Regions from separate parts of the Homo sapiens genome. Here region 2 is linked to region 1. The links are contacts of gene promoters, found by promoter capture Hi-C in human tissues and cell types (Jung and others, 2019). All regions are on one chromosome and are shown on one strand. Each heading gives the region's core, a stretch centred on a gene start or on the middle of the fragment in contact. The rest is flanking DNA. Distances are from core to core; before and after follow the strand shown.

The links. Contacts are between HindIII fragments. The study calls those that stand out against the background at their distance.
Region 2: a contact is called between a fragment that was not itself captured here and the fragment with the promoter of PRPF18 in region 1, in 1 of the 25 tissues and cell types used here (adrenal gland).

The regions. Positions count from the first base shown.
Region 1 is chr10:13,585,623-13,588,322 of GRCh38, forward strand. It overlaps PRPF18 (pre-mRNA processing factor 18), which reads left to right and starts at 1,343. Exons shown (of 10, transcript NM_003675.4): 1 at 1,343-1,530. The coding sequence starts at 1,465. RefSeq lists enhancers at 1,298-1,637, 1,813-2,408. The HindIII fragment of the contact is 7,227 bases long and covers 1-2,700 here.
Region 2 is chr10:13,892,537-13,895,236 of GRCh38, forward strand. The region is part of intron 2 of FRMD4A (FERM domain containing 4A); the gene reads right to left. Among named protein-coding and RNA genes, the nearest start is that of FRMD4A-AS2, 98 kb to the right of the region's middle. The HindIII fragment of the contact is 3,951 bases long and covers 1-2,700 here.

The sequences.
Region 1 (2,700 bases), core at 93-2,592:
TTGCTCATTGATTAGTGAGGGAAACCCATATTCATGCAAGAGTGTTGCCATATTTAGTTCAAGGACATTTTCCTGTGTTGGCTTATTTCTGGCAAAAGTCAGGTATATTTTATTTTATTTTGTTTTGTTTTTGAGACAAAGTCTTGCTCTATCACCCAGGCTGGACTGCAGTGGCATGATCCCGGCTCACTGCAACCTCCATCTCCCGGATTCAAGCAATTCTCCTGTCTCAGCCTCCTGAGTAGCTAGGACTATAGGCACCTGCCACCACGCCTGGCTAATTTTTGTATTTTTAGTAGAGACGGGATTTCACCATGCTGGCCAGGCTGGTCTTGAACTCCTGACCTCAGGTGATCTGTCCACCTCGGCCTCCCAAAGTTCTGGGATTACAGGGGTGAGCCACCCCGTCTGGCCTCAGATATCTTTTAGATGAAGTATCACCCCCCACAAAAGACTTTCTAAATTGAAATAATTCAATTGTTCATTTTTTTGTTTTGTAAAGCATTTTACCCATTATCAGCTGACTCAACAAAATGATATTTCTTACCTTTTTTGAGTAAGAAAAACGAAATGTCAAATATTGTTCAATTATGATTTCACAAAAACAATTTTTAAACGTGCTTCAATGACATGAAAAAAATAAGTCCACTGTAAACAAATGTTAGGGACTTAAAAAATCTCTGACATAATTTTTCTCTTCAATTTAACTTTTTTTCCCTTGGGTTGGATTTAAAAAAAAAAAAGGAATTTCTGATTACATCTCCAATCATGTCACTGAAAAATCTTGATTGCTGAACACATGACCAAAAAATGATTAGTTAGCTTGAGGTAAATGTTCAATTATCACCAAGATTGGTAAGCAATCTAAAACAGAGGGAGTGAAGATAAATTGACTTCCAAACTGCTTTAAATGGTTGTAGTCGTTTAAGTTCACAGGAAATTTAACAGGCTAGTAATGAACAGACAGCCCTTTCACTCTATTGTTACAAGTTAGTATTATTGTTTAGATTTTTCTCATCCTTTTGCAAATTTTGCAAGCAAGTAACTTCAGAAACCCTAATGTAAATTTCCAGTTAATAAAGATCTTGATTTAACTGGCATTATTGAGGTGTTCTTCGAGAGGCTTTTGGAACTCAACTAGCAGGTGCAGAGAGTACTACAAAGACCCGGGTTTCCGTCCACGTTCACGTAAACCTCCCTACGAGGGGAAACTACAGGCGCGCTGCCGGAGGGCGCCGCCAGTGGGCACTCACGCACAGCTGCTTTGGCCACCACAGGCGCCCCGGGCCACTCTCTTCCCTCATCTCTCTCATCCCAGCTTCCGCCGGAAGCGGCTCCTGTCAGTTGTTCTCAGGTGTTTGGGCTTGTTGTTCCGTATACTCAGTGGGTTCGCGGCCGCCGGCCCAGTGAGGCTGGGTTCGAGGAGCTGGAGCGGGAAACTGGAGCTTAAATTCTGGCGGCGAGATGGACATTCTGAAATCAGAGATCCTTCGGAAGCGGCAGCTGGTGGAGGACAGGAACCTGCTGGTGGTGAGGACCCTGCGGTCGTGGGGGTCGGGATGTAAGAGTGAGAGTATGTGTGTCGGGGTTTTGGGGTGAGGGTGACGATACTCAGAGGATTCGGGGCGGGGACGGGGCTTAGCGAGTGTCCTGCCACTACCCCTGGTAGGCCCCCTTAGATCCAACCCTTGGCGTCTCACTGTTGAGGCTGGAGAATAGGGTCTGAGAGCAGGGAACTTGAGTACAATTCGTGCTGACTTCCCAAAGCTGGATCAAAAGGAAAACACCTGGGTCTGGGGGCGGGAACCTGAGGCCAATTAACGCCCACGTCCAAAAGCCAAACCAAAAGAAAAATCCTCATCTTCCCACCACCGAGTAGCAAAGGCTTCAGGCTGCGGCTCTCCCCGCATCCCTGCCTTTCCACCACCTCTCAGATGGGAAGGGAACGTGCCCTGCATTGGCCGTGGGCCAATCACGGGCCATCCCTTCATCTGCATAGGGCGCCAGTTCACCTCAGTCTTTAGCCACAGACCGAACCCTTCATCCAGATACGGGGTAGCTGATAGGGACCTCAGAAGGAGTACCTAAAACCCGGAAAACTTTGTAACCGGGGCCTCGAGCCGCTTGCTCGGGCCCACTCACACCCTGTGGAGTGCTTTCTCGCGTTCATAAGTCCCTACTTTTGCTGCTTCATTCCTGTGTTTTGTTACTTTTTTTGTGCGTTTTGTCCAATTCTTTGTTCAAAACGCCAAGGACCCGGGCAACTTACACTCACGGCCTTCTTTCCGGTAACCACTTGGGAGCCTTAGGGATGCAGGTGTGGGAATTGCAGGAAAACCCGAGGCTTTGTTTGTTTTCCCCCGACTGACCCTGTTTCCCTCCAGTTTACCTAACTGCCCCCTATCCCCGCTCCTACCTGTTGGCATTCTGCGGACGTGCCCCAGTGCTCCTGAGAGTTCCCTTCTGTCGCCTTACGAAGGGTTTGTGCCCAACTGAAACATGGAGGAAGGGCCGCCGGGCGCGGTGGCTCACACCTGTAATCCCCACACTTTGGTGGGCAGATCACCTGAGGTCAGGAGTTCGAGACCAGCCTGGCAAACATGGTGAAACCCCGTCTCTACTAAAAACACCAAAATTAGCTGGGCGTGGTGGTGCGCGCCTGTAATCCCAGCTACTCAGGAGGCTGAGGCCAGAGAATCA
Region 2 (2,700 bases), core at 110-2,609, 310 kb after region 1:
GTCTAAATGTTTATTGCTTGAGGAGCTCAATTTGCTCTTAGACACATTTTTTTTCATGAATTGTCAAAACACGGTGATAAAATAAAAGGGGATGCTGGCAAGAGCCTCCACTTAGCAAAAGCCGACTTGTTTCTGGGTAAAGTCTTTCTCTAGAATTTCCAACCTGCACCCATCCACTCTTCAGGGGAGAGACTGGTTTTCCTCCCACCATGGTTGATCTAGTACTTGGTAGATCTAGAAACATCATTTTCCGGAGACCGGTAGGCTCTGAGGACTTACAAACTTCGTAATAAAAAGAAATCACTCACATCCTGTCTTCCAACTGACTGAAAATTATACCTTTTTCCAGTCACAGGTCCTGTGTTGTTTTCTAAACAACACTGGTAAAAATTTTCAACAGTTCAAAAGGCCTCACCATCAATAGAAAGGGAATTGGGCATACAGTTAGCATTGGAGAAAAAAGTTGAACGCTGGTGTTAAGGACTACCTGTTTTGTGTTTGTTTGTTTGTTTGTTATAGAGACAGAGTTTCACTCTGTCACCCAGGCTGGAGTGTGATGGTGTGATCACGGCTCACTGTAACCTCCCCGTCCTGGGCTCAAGTGATCTTCCTGCCTCAGCCTCCTAAGTAACTGGGACTACAGGCACACCCCACCACACGCTGCTAATTTTTGTATTTTTTGTAGAGACGGGATCTTGTCATGTTGCCCAGGCTGGTCTTAACTACCTGTGTTATTTCAAGCTGACTGGAGACTTGATGATCTGAAGCCAGGTTCGAATGGGATTCTCAGGTACCTCTCTAAAGTCTGTGAGGCGTATTCCAATGCAAAACCCCATTTTTTGATAATGCAATTGGAGCCCATCTCCTTGTGTTCTGAGGTCCTCAGAGGGCATATTGTTTCTTTGCACGCAGACTAGTTCTAGTCCTGATTTGTTTTGACTGCAACACCTAGTAATGGACAATGAGGAAATGTTCAGACCTACAACATTTTTTTTTCTTTTTTTGAGACAGAGTCTGTCTCTGTTACTCAGGCTATAGTGCAGTGGCACAATCTCGGCTCACTGCAGCCTCCCCTCCTGGGTTCAAGCGATTCTTCTGCCTTAGCCTCCCGAGTAGCTGGGATTACAGGCACCCACCACCATGCCCGGCTAATTTTTTAGTAGAGGCGGGGTTTTGCCATGTTGGCCAGGCTGGTCTTGAACTCCTGACCTCAGGTGATCCACCCACCTTGGCCACAGTGTTGGGATTACAGGCGTGAGCCACCGCACCCAGCTCAGACATACATTTCTCTTCCAATATTTTGTTTCCATCCTTAGAGGAGTTGTTGAATTTTATCCACATCTACACCTCCTGCTTTCCGCCTTGGCCACTGTCATATTCTGTATGTCCTAAACTGAACTTGCCTCACTGGCCAATCCTGCCTCCAGGCTCCCTCTCCTAGTAAACAGCATGCTCCCTCCTCCTCCCCAAAGCCAGAAACAGGGATAGAGAGCTCATTTCCCTCCCTCCTTTCTCTCATTCCTCACCTGATCATGGAGCCTGTCCTCATAACTACCTCATGAAAAGTCATGAGGGCAGCCCCTTATCCCAACAGTGCCTGAAGCTGAGTGAGCAACTGCTGGGCGCCAGGCATACTCAGGCCACATCATCTTTCACCAGGATGTCTCCAGCAGCCCTGTGAATGGGTGCTGATCTTATCTCTCTCAGATGCATTCTCCACTCCAGCTGGAGCGATTCTCCTAAATCCCAGATCTGATCCCGTAACTTTCGCTAAAAACCTGTTCAGGGCTTCCCTGGCTTTGGGGACAAAAAGTCCATATTCCTTCTGATGGCTATAAGGACCCCCTGGTCATCCAGTCTTATCTTTTGCCACCCAGCCCCACCAGAAATCGTGTCACCCCCTACCCTCCAGCTACAGAACCCTCTTCCAGGGCTCCGTATGTTCCAGGTGGTCACGCATCCGCGGATCACCCAGTAGCCCAGGCTGGAGAAAGAGCTCAGCTCACATCACTGCTCTGCTTAAAGACTGCGGGTGGCTTCTCACTGCTCCTGCCACATCCTCTTTGTCTTCATCACATATTATTCACATTTCCTGCTTCCTCTCCCTGGAAGGCCAGGCCCTGCTCCCTACCCCACTCTTTGGGTAGCTGGCTCCTGGTCGTCTTTCAGGTTCTTACTCAAATGCTGCCTCTTAGATAACCTTCGGTGACCAGCACATGGGGAATGTTTTCCCCCAGGTACTTAATATATCACCATCCTGTTTATTTTTTTCTTAACACTTAGCCACCATCAGGATTCACAGACCTGTGTGAAGGGCACAGACTGAAGCCATTCTGCCTGGGCTTGAATCTTGCCTGGCCACCCACTAGCTGTGCAAGCTTAGGCAAGTTTCTTAACCTCTCTGTGCCTCAGTTGAGAACACTCATCTATGAAATGGGGACAATAATATTGCCTACCTTGTAGGGCTGTTATGAGGATTAAACGAGTTAATATATGTAAAGCACTTAGAACAGGGTCTGGCTGAATAAGCATAAACCTTTTGGGGCTTTTTAAAAAAGTTGTATTTAAGTTCAGGGGTACACGTGCAGGTTTGTTGCATAGGTAAACTAGCGTCATGGAGGTTTGTTGTACAAATTATTTTGTCACTGAGGTATTAAGCCTATTACCCATTAGTTATTTTTCCATATCTTCCCCCTCCTC